Regions from separate parts of the Homo sapiens genome. Here regions 2, 3, 4, 5 and 6 are each linked to region 1. The links are contacts of gene promoters, found by promoter capture Hi-C in blood cells and fetal thymus (Javierre and others, 2016). All regions are on one chromosome and are shown on one strand. Each heading gives the region's core, a stretch centred on a gene start or on the middle of the fragment in contact. The rest is flanking DNA. Distances are from core to core; before and after follow the strand shown.

What was found. Contacts are between HindIII fragments. The CHiCAGO score rates a contact against its expected background, and 5 or more counts as called.
Region 2: a contact is called between a fragment that was not itself captured here and the fragment with the promoter of ZNF155 in region 1, in 3 of 17 cell types (non-activated CD4 T cells, total CD4 T cells and activated CD4 T cells). The highest score is 6.1, in non-activated CD4 T cells.
Region 3: a fragment that was not itself captured here is called in contact with the fragment with the promoter of ZNF155 in region 1 in 1 of 17 cell types (naive CD8 T cells); the score reaches 8.8 in naive CD8 T cells.
Region 4: a fragment that was not itself captured here is called in contact with the fragment with the promoter of ZNF155 in region 1 in 1 of 17 cell types (non-activated CD4 T cells); the score reaches 6.4 in non-activated CD4 T cells.
Region 5: a contact is called between a fragment that was not itself captured here and the fragment with the promoter of ZNF155 in region 1, in 2 of 17 cell types (naive B cells and non-activated CD4 T cells). The highest score is 9.4, in naive B cells.
Region 6: a contact is called between a fragment that was not itself captured here and the fragment with the promoter of ZNF155 in region 1, in 1 of 17 cell types (naive CD8 T cells). The highest score is 6.9, in naive CD8 T cells.

Annotation. Positions count from the first base shown.
Region 1 is chr19:43,982,678-43,985,715 of GRCh38, reverse strand. ZNF155 (zinc finger protein 155) reads right to left here and starts at 1,528. Exons shown (of 5, transcript NM_198089.3): 1 at 1,471-1,528. RefSeq lists a silencer at 1,632-1,831. The HindIII fragment of the contact is 8,717 bases long and covers 1-3,038 here.
Region 2 is chr19:36,559,825-36,562,862 of GRCh38, reverse strand. The region is part of intron 2 of ZNF529 (zinc finger protein 529); the gene reads left to right. Among named protein-coding and RNA genes, the nearest start is that of ZNF529, 12 kb to the left of the region's middle. The HindIII fragment of the contact is 5,321 bases long and covers 1-3,038 here.
Region 3 is chr19:36,844,709-36,847,746 of GRCh38, reverse strand. It overlaps a transcript of ZNF790 not described here. Among named protein-coding and RNA genes, the nearest start is that of ZNF345, 4.6 kb to the left of the region's middle. The HindIII fragment of the contact is 5,910 bases long and covers 1-3,038 here.
Region 4 is chr19:36,867,114-36,870,151 of GRCh38, reverse strand. The region is part of intron 2 of ZNF345 (zinc finger protein 345); the gene reads right to left. Among named protein-coding and RNA genes, the nearest start is that of ZNF345, 18 kb to the right of the region's middle. The HindIII fragment of the contact is 6,931 bases long and covers 1-3,038 here.
Region 5 is chr19:36,883,867-36,886,904 of GRCh38, reverse strand. It overlaps a transcript of ZNF345 not described here. Among named protein-coding and RNA genes, the nearest start is that of ZNF829, 31 kb to the left of the region's middle. The HindIII fragment of the contact is 3,615 bases long and covers 1-3,038 here.
Region 6 is chr19:36,901,452-36,904,489 of GRCh38, reverse strand. All of the region lies in intron 5 of ZNF829 (zinc finger protein 829), which reads left to right. It also overlaps the pseudogene RPL31P61. Among named protein-coding and RNA genes, the nearest start is that of ZNF829, 13 kb to the left of the region's middle. The HindIII fragment of the contact is 3,676 bases long and covers 1-3,038 here.

The DNA.
Region 1 (3,038 bases), core at 279-2,778:
ACAAAAATTAGCTGGGCGTGGTGGTGCGCACCTGTAATCCCAGCTACTTAGGAGGCTGAAGCAGGAGAATCGCCTGAACCTGGGAGGCGGCCTATTGCACTGAGCCCAGATCGCGCCACTGCACTCTAGCCTGGGCGACAGAGCGAGACTCCGTCTCAGGAAAAAAAAAAAAAAAAAAAAAAGAAAAAGAGCAATACCTTTCCACAGAGCCATGGTGTGGCGTAAATGTATTTATTTCCATAAAGCCCTTAGAATTAAGTTACCAATTAAGGTTTAATTATTATCAACACCCATGCCCAAGGACACATCCTATACACTCTTGGTTGAGGTGAACATCTCTGTAAAAGAAAAAACCGGCCCGGCGCGGTGGCTCACACCTGTAATTCCAGCACTTTGGGAGGCCGAGGCAGGCGGATCACTTAGGACCACAGGTTCGAGACCAGCCTGGCCAACATGGTGAAACCCCGTCTCTACTAAAAATACAAAAATTAGCCGGGCATGGTGACGCATGCCTGTAATCCCAGCTACTCCGGAGCTGAGGACAGAGAATCGCTTGAACCCAGGAGGCGGAGGTTGCAGTGAGCCAAGATCGCGCCACTGCTGCACTCCAGCCTGGGAGACAGAGCAAACCTCATTCTCAAATAATAACAATAATAAAAACAGACTAACAAAATAAATAACTTTTTTTTAAAAAGAGAAAAGCCAAAGACCACTCGTGTAGACAGCTTTGTCCTCAGTAGCCAAGTCCCTCCCTGCAGCTCTTTTAGAAAAGTCAGGCTGGGGAAGGAGAAAGCTGTCAAACACTCTGCGTCGCCGTCCCGGATACAAGTTAAATGCTCCTCTCCCTTCGTGAAACGTGGATGCAACCCACGCCTTCCTAAAAAGAGGTCAGAGGCGTCCGGGATCATCCAGAGCCCTGCCGGGCTCCAAGAGAAGGGCCGGAGCAGCTGGAGCTCTGACCCCACCCGGGCACCTGACCACTTCGCGGGAAATTAACAGGACACCAAGTGACAGGAGCTGTTAAGTCTTTGTTTTATACCACAACTTTCAACTCCTAAAACAATTCTATCAGGATGGTCCTGAAATCCTCATTTAAAAAACGGCAATGGGAGGTACAGGGAGATTAAGTAACACCCCACGTTATATCGCGAGAAAGAGGTCGCACACTTAAGAGTGGAGGGAGGCGGACTGAACGAGGTCAAACACCTGGAAAACCCTCTAAACAGGCACACAAGACTAGACAGAGTTCTTCCCCGCCCCCCCCGAACCCCCGACGACTCCTCCGGTGGACCTGAGTACAGCCCCCAACGCCAGAAGGCTCCATCGACGGCAACGAAACTTCCCTCCCACCCCTCGCATCTCCAAACCTCAGGTCTTCTCCAGGGCTTCTTACCCCCTTAGTTGACCCCCCAGGTCGTTAGGCGCCCCTAATAACTGGTTCACTTTCGCAAAGACCCGCAAGACACATACTTGGCTCAAACCACCTTGTTAAGTAGCAGTGTCCTGCTCGGAGACCGGAAGTGTCGATGATGCCACAGGCGTCTGGACTACACTTCCCAGAATCCCCCGAATCCGCCTGCCTGAGCCAAAGTTCCCACGACTCCACAGAGCAAATGGACTCCACTTCCCAGAATTCACAGGTCCTCCTGCCTGGGCCAAAATTCCCACGCCTCCCAAGCTACTCGCGAAACGCCTGCGGGAGCCAAATTTCCTGCGCATCGACCGGGCAATTAGACTCCCGCAGGCGTTTCGCTGGTATCTTGGGAAATGGAGTCCATTTGCTCTGTGGAGGCGTGAGAATTTTGGCTCAGGCAGGTGGACCTGTGAATTCTGGCCTATCAACCTATATTTTTATTTTAAAAAAATGGAGTCTCATGTTCTATATCAATTTTTCTAAACTAAAAAAGAATACTTTTCATGGTTTTCTTTAGATAAAGTGACTGTGCCAACCACAGTATGAGGAACACTTCTCTGAAAATTGAGTGACTGCTATTTCTAAACCAGTTACAGCTGTATCCTTGCTCTGTTCTGCCCTCCCAAGAGATAAAAATTTATTGACACGCTCAATCGTAGTAGGCAGGAAACTGTGCCTAATATATTAGGGTATATCTGGCATCAAAGGCCCTTTCTGTCCCCCAGGTCCTTGCACTCTGGGCCTGTGATGGGAGGAGAAGCTGCCATAATCTGTGAAATGCCTTTGGGGTCATTCTTCCATTGTCTTGGACAATAGGTCCTGGCTTCAGTTGACATGGCCAATCCATACTAAATTCATGAATTAGTTAGTTGCTTAACCATACCCTTGTATTCTTCAGGTTTCCTGTTTTTTTTTTTTTCCAAAGTAGATAGGCTGTAAACTTTTAAAAATTTTAGTTCTGTTTCCCTTTTAATTAATAATTATTTCAGTCATTCCTCACTTCGTGCCTTTCACTACGGGTAGTCAAGATGATTCAAGCAACTTCAACACTTTGATTAGAAATTAATTCAGATAAACAATTATATCATTCACAAATTCTACCTTCCATAAAACACTAGCACCTGAATATAATTCAGCCAAATTCTTTGTCCCTTTATAACAAGAAGCTCTCTTCTCTTCCAATAACATGTTCAACATTTCTGACTGAGGTCTTCAGAATGGCCTTTACTGTCCATATTTCTACCAACATTCTGATCATGACTACCTAGGTATGCTCTAACAAGATTGATGTTTTCTCTACAGTTCTTATTCTCTATTTCTGAGCGCTAACCAGAATTGTCCTTATCAGTCCATTCATGGCAATGTAGGCTTTTCCTAGCATACATGTAAAAACTCTTCTAGACTCTATCCATTACATAGTTCCAAAGACTGCTACATTTTTAGGTATTTGTTGCAGCAGCAAGCCCACCTCTCAGTACCAATATTTTTTAGTCACAAAATATCATAGCCTGCCTGGCTTTTATTTTATTTTATTTTATTTTATTTTATTTTATTTTATTTTATTTTATTTTATTTTTGAGACGGAGTCTTGCTCTGTCGCCCAGGCTAGAGTGCAGTGGCGCGA
Region 2 (3,038 bases), core at 151-2,650, 7.4 Mb after region 1:
GGCTCCACCTTCTTTTTTTTTTTTTTTTTCTGGAGACAGAGTGTTGCTCTGTCGCCCAGGCTGGAGGGCACAATCTCAGCTCACTGCAAGCTCCGCCTCCCAGGTTCCTGCCATTCTCCTGCCTCAGCCTCCTGAGTAGCTGGGACTACAGGCACCTGCCACCACGCCCGGCTATTTTTTTGTAGTTTTTTAGTAGAGACGGGGTTTCACCCTGTTAGCCAGGATGGTCTCGATTTCCTGACCTCGTGATCCGCCCACCTCGGCCTCCCAAAGTGCTAGGATTACAGGCATGAGCCACCGCGCCCGGCCAGGCTCCACCTTCTAATACTATCACATTGGCAACACCTGAATTTTGGAGAGGACATGTTACATTCTGCCCCTGGACCCCCCCTATATTCATGTCTTTCTCATGTACAAAATACATTCATTTCACTCCAATAGCCCCCAAAGTATTAAAACTCATTTCAGCATAAACTTTAAAGTCAACTTAAAGGGCAGAGTCTCATCTAGGTATTATCTAAATCATGTGATTCATCCTGAGGCAAATTGCTCTCTAGTCCTGTACCTGTGAAACCAAACTAGTTACGTGCTTCCAAGCTACAATGGAATAATAATGGAATAAGGCAGACATTTCTTTTTTTTTTTCCCCTGGGCTGCAGTGCAATGGTGCGATCTCGGCTCACCGCAACCTCCGCCTCCCAGGTTCAAGCGATTCTCCTACCTCAGCCTCCCGAGTAGCTGGGATTACAGGCATGCACCACCATTCCTGGCTAATTTTTTTGTATTTTTAGTAGAGATGGGGTTTCTCCATGTTGGTCAGGCTGGTCTTGAACTCCCCACCTCAGATGATCCACCTGCCTTGGCCTCCCAGAGTGCTGGGATTATAGGCATGAGCCACTGCACCCGGCCAGGACAGACATTTCTATTCCAAAACAGATAAATAAGAAAGTATGGGTCACTGGTCTCAAGTAGGTCCAAAACTGAACAGGGCAAACAACAATAAACCTTTAGCCTGGAGAATAATCATCTTTGACTCCTTGTCGCATGTTCCAGACACACTGGGATGGGGGTTGGACCCCAAAGGCCCGAAGGGTCCCTGCCACCATGGCTTTGGTGTGCACAGTTCATACTGCAGCTCTCATAGGTTGCAGTCAGGTGCCACTGGCTCTCTCCCAGGCCCATGTTGCATGCTGCTGGCTCTACAGGTCTAGGGTTTGGGGAGTGGCACAGCCTGTATGACTCCACTGGACAATGCCCTAGGGGGGACTGTCTGCAGTGGCTCTGCCTCTGTAGTAGGTCTCTGTCTAGGCCCTGAGGCTCTCCAAGGCATCACGTGCCTGTAATCCCAGCTATTTGGGAGGCTGAGACAAAAGAATTGCTTGAGCCGGGGAGGCGGAGGTTGCAGTGAGCCAAGATCGCACCACTGCACTCCAGCTTGGGCAATACAGTGAGAGTCTGTCTCAAAAAAAAAAAAAAAAAGAAATCTCTTTGAAGGATGCCATGCTTCCACATCTTGTGCACTCTGCACACTTGCAAAATCAGTACCATGTGGATGCTGAGGTTCACCACTTTGCCCTCCAGAGCAGGGACTAAACTGCACCTGGGCCCACTGGAGCCACAACTACGGCAGCCAAGGAGCACTGTGCCGGGATGTGGGGAGCAGAGACTTGAGGCAGCCCCGGGCAGCAAGCCCCAAAGTTCCATGAGTGTTCTACGCCCTTCCCTGGAAACCATCCTGCCTTCAAGGCCCTCGCACTGTGGGCCTGTGATGGGAGGAGCAGCCTTGAAGCTCTCTGAAGTGCCATTGGGTTCATTCTCCTATTGTCATGATGAAAACACCTGGCTTCTTTCTAGCCACACTCTGATCAGAAAGTCACTTGGTCACACCCTTGGTTTACTTTCCTAAATACCTTTTTATTTACATGCTTAGGCTGAGAATTTTCAAATCTCTATATTTTGCTTCCGTGTTATAAATCCCATCTTTGTATTGTTTCTTCTCACATTTTACTCTGAGTAGTTAAGAGAAGCCGAGCAGCACCCTGAACACTTTGCTGCTTAGAGATTTATTCTGCCAAATATCTTACTTCAGAAACAGCTTCTGATTTATATTGGCTTAATTCAAGTGAGATAGAGAAATTTACTCCTATATAACTCTTATTTCCTTTCATCTTCTCTTATAGTAATATTGGTCTTCACATTATATCTACAGATGTTTCAAACTCAACCAATCGTTGTTGTAATTTTTACCTTATATAAGTCTATGTTTTTAAAAAAAAATGAGAAGAAAGGAGAACCTTTATACATTTATAACTTTTATTTTATCAATCTGATTTCTCACTTTGGGTTCTCCTCATTTGGTCCAGATGGATTCGAGTTACCATCTGGATTCATTTCCTTAGCCCAGTACAACTTTGCTTTCCCCTGCCTTGTGTTATTATTAGCAAATATATTACATTTCTGTATGTTATGGGCCCAATAAATACATAAGTACACGTTTCATAAAATTTGTATATCAGTTAAGAGGAGAAGAGATATATATGTATACTGTCTTTTATAATTACATAAAACTGGCTTGCTTCTCTTTTTTTTTTTTTTTTTTTTTTTTGAGACGGAGTTTCGCTCTTGTTGCCCAGGCTGGAGTACAATGGCGTGATCTCGGCTCACCGCAACCTCTGCCTCCTGGGTTCATGTGATTGTTCTGCCTCAGCCTCCCGAGTAACTGGGATTACAGGCATGCATCACCACACCCGGCTAATTTTTTATTTCAGTAGAGACCAGGTTTTTCCACGTTGATCAGGCTGGTCTCGAACTCCCAACCTCAGGGGATCCTCCCGCCTCAGCCTCTCAAAGTGCTGGAATTACAGGTGTGAACCAACGCACCAGGCCACTTCTCTTTGTTTTTTCTTATGGATTTGTATTACTGCCTGGGATCACCTGTTTTCAGCCTAAAGAGCTTCCTTGAGTACTTTTTAAGGTCAGTCAGCTAGCAATAAATTCAGTTTTTATCTGGAAATGTCTTTTCATCTTAAGTTTTGAAA
Region 3 (3,038 bases), core at 208-2,707, 7.1 Mb after region 1:
ACAGAGTCTCTCTTTGTCGCCCAGGCTGGAGTGTAATGACGTGATCTTGGCTCACTGCAACCTCCATCTCCCCAGTTCAAGTGATTCTCCTGTCTCAGTCTCCCAAGTAGCTGGGATTACAGGCACATGCCACCAATCCCGGCTAATTTTTGTATTTTTAGTAGAGACGGGGTTTCACCATGTTGTCCAGGCTTGTCTCGAACTCCTGACCTCAGGTGATCCACCCGCCTCGGCCTCCCAAAGTGCTGGGATTACAGGCGTGAAGGGCTCCACTTCTTAATCTAACACATTGGCGATTAAGTTTCACTATATAAATTTTGGGGAACACATTCAGAACATAACCAAGGACAAAAGAACAAGTGTTTTTGTTTTGTTTTTTGTTTTGTTTTTTTTCCCAAGACAAAGTCTTACTGTATTGCCCAGGCTGGAGTGCAGTGGCGCAATCTCGGCTCACTGCAACCACTGCCTCCCGGGTTCAAGCAATTCTGCCTCAGCCTCCCGAGTAGCTGGGATTACAGATGTGCGCCACCACACCCGGCTAATTTTTGTATTTTTAGTAAAGACAGGGTTTCACCATGTTGGCCAGGCTGGTCTTGAACTCCTAACCTCATGATCTGCCTGCCTTGGCCTCTCAAAGTGCTGGGATTACAGGTGTGAGCCACCGCACTTGGCTAAGAACAAGTGTTTTAACAGAAAATACTCTGTTTAGGAAACTACAAGGGTTTTAGGACCCATGAACCAAGAACCATGGGCATGGATAAAGACCAAAATACATATTTCTTATTACATCACAATATCAGAGAGGTATAGACTCAGGATTGGTTGGTTTGCATATGTAAGCTGTGCTCATTGGAAAACTGTGATTATCTTTAGGAATTAGCCCTGAGAGGAGCAGCCTCTCCCTGTTTTTGGTAAGGTCCCCAAATGCCAGAGCATCAAGAATACAGAAAATAAGAAAATATAGTTAATATAATTGGCCTCTTGATGAACGAGTGCCAAATAGACTAATAGAGAATCTAAGGAAATGCAGTTAGAACACAGAGGCTATGTAAGTATTTACCTTCCACAAATGGTGAACTAATTTTTATTCCAACCAGAAATGTATGAAAGTTCCTATTTCCTGTTCCTGTCAACCATTGTATTTCTTCATTCAGCAGATATTCATTGAGCTCTTTTTTTTTTTGAGACGGAGTCTCGCTCTGTCGCCCAGGCTGGAGTGCAGTGGCACTGTCTCGGCTCACTGCAACCTCCGCTTCCCGGGTTCAAGAATTCTTCTGCCTCAGCCTCCCGAGTAGCTGGGACTGCAGGCGCCTGCCACCATGCCCGGCTAATTTTTGTATTTTTAGTAGAGACAGGGTTTCACTGTGTTAGCCAGGATGGTCTCGATCTCCTGACCTCGTGATCTTGTGATCTGCCCGCATCGTCCTCCCAAAGTGCTGGGACTACAGGCGTGAGCCACTGCGCCTGGCCTCATTGAGCTCCTTATCTGTGCCAGGTGCTATTCTAGGCACTAGGAAAATATCAGTGAACAGAACAGCCAAGATTTCCTGTCCTCACAGAGTATACCATTCTAGTTGGGGAAGTGGACAATGAATGTGTAAATGAAATATATCATATTCCAGATAAAGATAAGATTGGGGCCAGGTGTGGTGGCTCATGCCTGTAATCCAAGCACTTTGGGAGGCCAAGATGGGCGTATCACCTGAGGTCAGGAGTTCGAGATCATCCTGGCCAACATGGTGAAACGCCGTCTCTGATAAAAATACAAAAATTAGCCAAGTGTGGTGGTGCATTCCTGTAATCCCAGCTACTGGGTAGGCTGAGGCAGGAGAATCGCTTGAACCCGGGAGGCAGAGGTTGCAGTGAGCCGAGATCATGCCATTGCACTCCAGCCTGGGCAACAAGAGTGAAACTCCGTCTCCCACCACCCCCCTCAAAAAAAAAAAAAGAATCTAGGTTCTTTATAAATCTTTGTGCTGTCATATTGCACTGTCATTTTCTGCAAAGCCAAAGGTGGATCCATTTTTTCTGTCAATTTGTTGTACATGTTTTTAAAAATCTTTTAGTGATTACCTGAAAGATTACAGCATTCCTCTTTCTTTTAGTCTAGGACAAATTATTGACTTTACCATTTCCCCAATACTGCTAGAGGACCTTGGGACACTTTAACTCCATTTACCTCCATCCTCATTTTTGCTTTATTTTTGTTATTTAATTCTGCATACATTCAAAACCCCAGAGGGCAGTATATTACTTTGTGCAGTCAATATTCATTTATATTCACATACTTACTCTTTCTATTGCTATTCTTTCCCTACTAATTTTTTTTTTTTTTGGAAACAGGGACTCTGTCACCCAGGTTGAGTGCAGTGGCATGATCATGGCTCACTGCAGCCTCGACCTCCCAGGCTCAAGTGATCCTCCTACCTCAGCCTCCTGAGTAGCTGGAACCGCAGGTGTGCGCCACCACGCCCAGCTAATTTTTGATTTTTTGTAGAGGCAAAGTCTTGCTATATTGCTCAGGCTGGTCTTGAACTCCTAGATGCAAATGAACCTCCACCTTGGCCTCCCAGATTGCTGGGATTACTAGTATTAGCCACTGTGCCTGGCCTAAATTTCTTTCTGTTTCATCTGAGATCTTGTTCTTCTCGAAAAACTCCATTTAGTATTTCTTTTTTTTTTTTTTTTTTTTTTTTTTTGAGACGGAGTCTCGCTCTGTCGCCCAGGCTGGAGTGCAGTGGCGGGATCTCAGCTCACTGCAAGCTCCGCCTCCCGGGTTCACGCCATTCTCCTGCCTCAGCCTCCCAAGTAGCTGGGACTACAGGCGCCCGCCACTACGCCCGGCTAATTTTTTGTATTTTTAGTAGAGACGGGGTTTCACCGTTTTAGCCGGGATGGTCTCGATCTCCTGACCTCGTGATCCGCCCGCCTCGGCCTCCCAAAGTGCTGGGATTACAGGCGTGAGCCACCGCGCCCGGCCCTAGTATTTCTTTTAGTGGTGTTCTGATGGCAATGGATTCTCATGGTCTGTCTGAAAT
Region 4 (3,038 bases), core at 202-2,701, 7.1 Mb after region 1:
ACATTTAACTGTCAAAGAACTAGCAGGTAAAATATAAGATCTTTCTCAAATCATTAATAAAAAACTAAATGGGCTGGGTGCAGTGGCTCAAGTCTGTAATCCCAGCACTTTGGGAGGCCAAGGTGGGCGGCTCACTTGAGGTCAGGAGTTCGAAACCAGCCTGGCCCACATGGTGAAACCCTGTCTCTATTAAAAATACAAAACAGTTAGTCAGGCATGGTGGCACACCAGGCGTGGTGGCATGTGCCTGTAATCCCAGCTACTTGGGATGCTGAGGCAGGAGAACTGCTTGAACCCAGGAGGTAGAGCTTGCAGTGAGCCGAGATCACGCTACTGCATTCCAGCCGGGGCGACAGAGCAAGACTCAGTCTCAAAAAAAAAAAAAAAGCTAAATGATCCAAGAGAAAAGAAACCACTAAATAAATAAGAAAACACTGCCATATTCACTCCTGGTCTTGTTTATGCCCTGTGTAATAATTTGTCAGGTCTTTGTCCTAGGGTTCCTAGCACAGAGCTAGACATGTCTTTGCTATGGATCACACCTGAGTTTATGCTAATGAGGTAACTCATGGTGGACCCGAGTAGCTTCAGAATTGGGGCAGTCATCAAAAATACTTTTAGCTAGCCAGTCTCTGAGGAAGAAAGTGGGGCTGGAGACTGAGTTCAGTCATGTGGCCAATGATTAATCAATCATGCCTACATAATGAAATTCCACCCCAAAGTTCAGTGGGGCTTCCTTACTGGTGAACATATCAATGTGTTTGGAGGGTGACACACCCTGCTTTCACCAGGAAAGGGCATAGAAACTGTGTATAGGTCCCTTTCAGACCTTGCTCTATGTGTCTCTTTACTGTGCTGTTCCTAATTTGTATCCTTATCTTTCATAATAAAACTATAATTTTAAGTGTAGTGCTTTCCTGAATTCTGTGAGTTGTAGTAAATTACTAAATGAAGGGGGGAGGGGGAGGGAGTCATGGGAACTTCCTGGAATTGTAGCTAGTTGGCCTAAAGTAAGGGCAGATTTACTGGGGACTGTATGCTAAAACCTATGGAGTCTGACACTAACTCTGGGCAGCTAGTACCAGAACTGAATTGCAGTACATCAGTTGGAGATTAAATAGATTAAAATCCCATGTTCATGGATTAGAAGACTTAACATGAAGATGGCAATACTCGCTAAAATAATCTGCAGATTCAATACAATCTCTATTAACACTTCAGTGGCCTTTGAAATGAAAAGCCAGGCGGGGCGGTAATCCCAGCAGTTTGGGAGGCTGAGGCGGGTGGATCACGAGGTCAGGAGTTTGAGACTAGCTTGGCCAACATGGTGAAACCCTGTCTCTACTAAAAGTAAAAAAATTAGCTGGGCGTGGTGGCACGCACCTGTAATCCCAGCTACTCGGGAGCCTGAGGCAGGAGAATTGTTAGAACCCAGGAAGCGGAGGTTGCAGTGAGCCGAGCTCCACCACTGCACTCCAGCCTGGGCAACAGAGCAAGACTCCATCTCAAAAAAAAAAAAAAAGCCACTCCTCATATCCATGTGGAACTGCAATGGGTACCCAAAATCATATGGAACTGTAATGTGTATTGAAAATGAAAAAGTAGGACTCACTTCTTCCAATTGTAAAACTTACTATTATAAAGCTACAGTAATCAAAAGGACTGGCCTAAGAACAGCCTTGTAAACTAATGGAATAAAACTGAAAATCCAGAAATAAACCCAAACATCTATGACTAATAGATTTCCCAGAAGGCCAGTTAAGTCCACTGAATGGAGAAAGAAATGTCTCTTCAAAAAATGGTATTGAGACAACTGGATAAACACATGCAAATATAAAATGTGAACTCAAGGCCGGGCGCGGTGGCTCACGCCTGTAATCCCAGCACTTTGGGAGGCCAAGGCGGGTGGATCACAAGGTCAGGAGTTTGAGACTAGCTTGGCCAATGTGGTAAAACCCTGTCTCTACTAAAAGTAAAAAAAATTAGCTGGGCGTGGTGGCACGCACCTGTAATCCCAGCTACTCGGGAGCCTGAGGCAGGAGAATTTTTGGAACGCAGGAAGCAGAGGTTGCAGTGAGCAGAGATTTCACCACTGCACTCTAGCCTGGGCGACACAGCAAGACTCTGACTCAAAAAAAAAAAAAAAAAAGCCACTCCTCATATCCATATGGAACTGCAATTGGTACCCAAAATCCATATGGAACTGCAATGTGTATTGAAAATGAAAAGGTAGGACTCTCTTCTTACAATTGTAAAACTTACTACTACAAAGCTACAGTAATCAATAGGACTGGCCTAAGAACAGACTTGTAAACTAATGGAATAAAACTGAAAATCCAGAAATAAACCCAAACATCTATGACTAATAGATTTCCCAGAAGGATAGTAAGTCCACTGAATGGAGAAAGAAATGTCTCTTCAACAAATGGTATTGGGACAACTGGATAAACACATGCAAATATAAAATGTGAGCTCAAGATGGATCAACAACCTAAACAGAAGTGCTAAATCATAAAATTCTTTCAAAAAAACAGAATTTCTAATTCTTCATGACCTCAGATTTGGCAATTAATTCTTAAATTTAACACCTAAAGCACAAGCAATGAAAGAAAAGAATACATCAATTTAAATTCATCCAAGTTAAAAGTTTGTGCTTCAATTGGGTACAGGGTATTTCTAGAGGCAGATGAAAAAGGTTTAAAACTAGAGAGAATCAATAGTTGCACAATATTGTGAATACAGCAAATACCACTGAATTTATACTAAATACCACTGAATTATACACTTTAAAATGGTTAAGTGTATCTCATGTGAATTTTGCCTAAAAGAACAAATCTTGGGGAAAAAATGAGAAAAGGAGATAAAAGATAATACAAATGAAAAGATGTTCTGTTTCATCAGTAGTCATGGTCATACAAATTAACACCATAATTAGATATTACTAAGTATACTAGGTAGGTAAAAAGTGTGACTATTCCAAATGTTGGTAAAGATGTGGGAAAAACGTGGCAAAGGCGGCGGCAAATATACACTGTTGG
Region 5 (3,038 bases), core at 148-2,647, 7.1 Mb after region 1:
CTCCTGCCTCAGCCTCCCGAGTAGCTGGGATTACAGGCGCCCACCACCACGCCCGGCTAATTTTTTGTATTTTTTTTTTTTAGTAGAGACGGGGTTTCACCGTGTTAGCCAGGATGGTCTCGATCTCCTGACCTCGTGATCCGCCCGCCTCGGCCTCCCAAAGTGCTGGGATTACAGGCGTGAGCCACCGCGCCCGGCCCCCAGCTAATTTTTGTATTTTTAGTAGAGACGGGGCTTCACCATGTTGGCCAGGCTGGTCTCGAACTCCTGACCTCAGGTGATCCACCCTCCTCGGCCTCCCAAAGTGCTGGGATTATAGGCATGAGCCAGCGGGCCTGGCCCTCTTCCTCATTTTAAATGACCTTAACTATTTTGAGGAGGTCAGTATAGCGTAGAATGTTCCTCCGCTAAGATCTGACTGATGTTTTTCTCATGATTAGACTGAGGTTGTTTGCAGGAGGAAGATCACAGAGGTAAAGTGCCATTTTCCTCATAGATATCAAAGATTCATACTATCAGCATGATGACTTTTTGTTGGTCTTGATCACCTGAGTGAGGGAGTGTTTGTCAAGTTTCTCCAGTGTAAATTTAGTCTTTTCTCCCTTTTCCCATACAGTCATCTTTGGAAGTCACTATGCACAGCACGTACTTAAGGAGCGGGGTTATGCTCCACTTTCCTGAAGGCAGAATATCTACATAAATTATTTAGAATTCTGTACTGGAGATTTATCTCTTCTCCATTTATTTAGTTATTTATCTGATAATATAGTCATATCAGTATGAATGCATGGATATTTATTTTATACTTCGGGTTATAATCCAATACCACTTTATTTGTTGCTCAAATTTTCTTGGAGTGATATCATCTAAATCACTGTGGCTATGCTGTTGTGAACGCCCTGAAAGCTACACAAACAGACAAATTAGGTTATTATAAACATCTAAGTAACATAACCATGGTTAGGATCAGGATGGTATCAGGAAAGGTGATGAGAGGCGGGTAGAATTGGAATATAACTGGGGGGAAAGAATTTACTTTTCATTACATAACACTGGATTAACTTGGATATCCGTAGCAGTATTGATAATTAAACTTGACCCACTAAATCTCATACTGTACACCAAACTTCTCTCAGACTTCATTCTATGTGTCTCTTCCTGTGGCTAGTTGAAATATGTATCCTTTCACTATAATAAAGTTGTAATCATAGGCCAGGCACGGTGGCTCACACCTGTAATCCCAGGCAAGATGTGAGTGGTGAAATAAAGCCTCTAGGGGAAGAAAGAGAATACCTTCATAAGTTTGTAGGCATGAAACACACACACACACGCACACAAACATTTAAGACTCAAAGTTCTAACCATATATAGAAAAAGGTTGATAAACAGGAGTTCATTAAAATTAAAAACTCCAATTCATCAACCCATACCTTTAAGAGAGTGGAAATGCAAGCCACAAAGCAAAAGGCATTTGCAACATACATATCTAGCAAACAAATCAGATCCAAAATACACAAAGAATTCACACAAAGCAATAAGGAAAAGACACGATACGCATTTAAAACGGCCAAAGTCTTACCAACCCTGCATACAAGATATCAAAAAAGCTAGTAAGCAAGCATATGAAAAGGTATTCAACATTATTAGTCATTGGAAGTGAAAATGTAACTTTCTACATACTTATATAACTATATAATAGTTATATAATATTTCTATATATAATTCTAGTAACTAATACATTAGTATAGTCCCATTAGAATGACTATACAATACTAAGTGTGAAGAGGACATACAGCAAATGAAACCCTTACAGATTCTTTGTGGGAGTGTAAATTTGCACAATCACTTTGGAAAACTGACATTTACTAAATATAGCCTATCTCTGACTCAGCAATTCCATTCTGAAGTATACTGCCAATAGAAAAGAGTAAATATGTCTACATAAAGACATGTATAAGAAGGTTCCCAGAGTTGTAGAAACAATACAGATACCCATCAACGAAAGAATGAGTAAGTCAAAGTATATTCCTGTATAGTGATAAATTAACTTCACCCAAAGAGAGGTCTTGCCTTTACCTTGGGTACTGGGAGGCCCACTGGGGGTACTCTAGGCCTCTGGAATGTCCTGCCCAATAACAGTGTCTTGGTTTGGCTGGGTGCTTTGGATGGCCACCCGACAGTATAACATGATTTATGATGAGTGCTTTGAGGCATGCTATCTCAGTTTTGACTTCTGGGGAAATGGCAGACAAACAGTATTAGACAAACCAGCAAGAAGGGCAGAAAGACAAAGGTCAGCTATGTGGGCAGTATATTATCAAACCCCAAGAAAAACACTGGAAACCAAAGGCTAAGGTGAGCTTCCCTGGATTGCAACACTTATCAGTACACATTGTAGCTGGAAGGAGGTAATGCCATCCAGGACTCCATAGGGATAGGATGACCAGAAGACTCATCTTTGGACCCCTCTCAGACTTCATTCTATGTGTCTCTTCCTCTGGCTAGTTGTAATTTGTATCCTTTCACTATAATAAGGTTGTAATCATAGGCCAGGTGCGGTGGCTCATGCCTGTAATCCCAGCACTTTGGGAGGCTGAGGTGGGCAGATCACTTGTGGTCAGGAGTTCAAGACCAACATGGTGAAACCTCGTCTCTACTAAAAGTACAAAAATTTAGCTGGGCATGGTGGTGGGTGCCTGTAATCCCAGCTACTCACGAGGCTGAGGCAGGAGAATCGCTTGAACCCAGGAGGCGGAGGTTGCAGTGAGCCGAGATCGTGCCACTGCACTCCAGCCGGGGCAACAGGAGCAAGACTCTGTCTCAAAAAAAATAAAAATAAATAAGTTGTAATCATAGGTATAGTATTATCTTGAGTTCTGTGAATTATTATACTGAATTATCAAGGGTAGTCATGACAAGTCCCAAATTTGTAGTCAGCTGGTCTGAAGTATGGGTAGCCCTTGGAACCTCTGAACTTGTGCCTGGTGTCTGAAATGAGGGCAGTCTTGTGGAAACTATTCCTTCAGACTTCAGTTTCT
Region 6 (3,038 bases), core at 358-2,857, 7.1 Mb after region 1:
AGGTGGAAGTTGCAGTGAGCTGAGATCATGCAACTGCACTCCAGCCTGGGCAACAGAGCAAGACTCCATCTCAAAAAAAGAGAAAAAAGAAAAACAGCAGCCTGCTTTTTCACATATACATTCCTACCATGACTGCCCCAGTCCCTCTCATCAAAGATAATACATTTTCAACTCTTACTTTCATTCTTCTGATACCTACCTTCAAATTTTGCATAGTATGTTTTGTCTTTCTGTGATACATCAAACTATAAAAGTATTTCTTGATGTCTTTTTCTGATAGTTGAGGGCTGGTCTCTCGTAATCACTGTATGTATCTTGCCTATAGCAATATATTCATAGTTTATATCCTGATTACACAAATGTTGTTATAACTTTCCTGTTACCTACTTAATGTGCATCCCCATTGGTGTTATGCCTTATGTTTATTTGTATTGTAGTTTGTACTTTCTATTTTCATATCTTTGCTTAATAATAGTCACTTAGGAGTGTTTTTACATATTCTTCCCAAGTTCAAATACTGGATTGAAAATAAACCCATCAAAACTGAGATGTCTTTTTTATGTATCAGTTTTACATTTTGGAACAATTGGTTTTTTTAAGACAAAACTATTGTTATTTTTTTTTTCGAGACAGTTTTACTCTTGTTGCCCAGGCTGGAGTGCAGTGGTGCAACCTCAGCTCACTGCAACCTCTGCTTCAGCCTCCCGAGTAGCTGGGATTAGAGGCACCTGCCACCATGCCCGGCTAATTTTTTTATTTTTAGTAGAGACGAGGTTTCCCCATGTTGGCCAGGATGGTCTCGAATTCCTGACTTCAGGTGTTCCACCCACCTTGGCCTCCCAAAGTGCTGGGATTACAGGTCTGAGCCGCCGTGCCCAACCTATAATTTCCTTGATAACAAAAGCATATCTATTACATTTCTGTTATGATTATTCCCAGATAGTCTCAACTACTCAAATTATAAAGAAAGATGTGGGAGGTAGGTAATTGAGAACTGTGATATATAAACATTTTAACAGACTCCTGACATGTGATACCACTCCCCCAATAGCCACCCACATTCCTTATAAGCCTTTATAAAAAGGACAGAAATGCCCTTTTGCACATTTGTGCCCTGCACATACTATAACTAAAATTACCCTTGACCCAAAAACAAAACAAAACAAAACCACATGTATTTATTTATATTACCCAAAGGTATAGCCATCCTCTAACATAAAAAACAAGGCATACATATTAAATAATAATGGCATATTTGTTAAAACTATTCTTAGAAATCAATGTTTTAATACCTTATGTTAGAAATCATCCAGGTTTTCGAGGATTATCTATTAATTTTTCTTACTTAATGTCCATTTTCTTGAAGTTGACTAAAAATCTTGACTACTGTATTTAAACTGACACACTACAGAGCAACACAGTTACTTTTTTTCTTCTTCTTCTTTTTTATTTTTGAGATGGAGATTCGCTCTGTCGCCCAGGCTGGAGTGCAATGGCGTGATCTCGGCTCACTACAACCTCCGCCTCCCGGGTTCAAGCGATTCTCCTGCCTCAGCTTCCCAAGTAGCTGGGATTACAGGCGTGCGCCACCATGTCCAGCTAATTTTTGTATTTTTAGTAGAGACGGGGTTTCACCATGTTGCCCAGGTTGGTCTCTAACTCCTCACCTCAAGTAATCCACCCGCCTTGGCCTCCCAAAGTGCTGGGATTATAGGCGTGAGCCACTGCACCCGGCCCAACAGTTACTTGGATGTCAAAAAGTCTGACAGAACTATAATTTGATTTGGTTTAACACATAATTGTATAGTTTTTATTATTTTATTTTATTTTATTTTATTTTATTTTGAGACAGAGTCTGGCTCTGTTGCCCAGGCTGGAGTGCAGTGGTGCATCTTGGCTCACTACAACCTCCACCACACCCGCCTCTCCCAGGCTTAAGTGACCCTCCCACCTCAGTCTCCCTAGTAGCTGGGACTACAGGTGCACGGCACCATGACCGGCTAATTTTTGTATTTTTTGTAGAGATGGGATTTTGCCATGTTACCCAGGCTGGTCTCGAACTCCTAAGCTAAAGTAATCCGCCTGCCTTTGCCTCCCAAAGTGCTGGGATTACAGGCGTGAGCCACAGCACCCGGCCTAGTTTTTATAATCTTAAAATTTACATTTTGCACTGATAAAATCAGGAGGAAGATGTATAGCTATTTTTAAACCAGAATTATTAAGCCAGTCTTTTTAAAAATTTCTGTTTTTGAGCTAGCAGTTCTTGTGAGGTTGTGGGGTTATTTTTGCGGGGTGCGGGGGGGTACTTGTTTTTTTTTTTCTTTTTTTTTTGCAATTTTATAACTATTTGATGTATTTGACAATCAGTGATTAGTTCTCATCCACATTGACTGTCTGTAGATTTTTGAAAGTGGTAACAGATACATAGATAACCAAAGTATAGAGTTTATTTGGTGAATCTTCATCCCCATTACGTATTCTGGACAACCGCACATGGATTCGTTATGGGACATTCCTTATTCCTTTGGCCCAGACAGCTTTGTTGAGCCTGGTATCAGTGCGCACATCTGGAGTTCCCATCTCCTTCATGGCAAATTTCTGAATCTCTTTGAGTGTCCGAGGGGCACGCTTCTTGAAGCCCACTCCATGGATGCGCTTGTGCATACTGATGGTGTATTCTCAGGTCACCACCTTGTGGATGGCAGAACGGCCCTTTTTCTTCTCACCACCCTTCTTTGTGGGAGCCATTCTGCCGGATCCAAGTTGGAAAGACTTGTTTATTTTTTAAGGCTAGCACATTCAAACTACTAGAAGTTTTCTGTGACTGTCTTTGCACTACAATCACACACTTGGATAGCCCACAAAGCTGAAAATATTTGCTATCTTATTCTTTATTTAAAAAGTTGCCCAACCCCTGCTCGCTATGAACCAGAGTAGCACTCCTTTAATTTTGTTGTTTTATTTTCAGCTTTATTAAGGTATAATTCACATACCATATAGTTCACCCACATAAAATGTACAATTCAGTGATTTTTAAT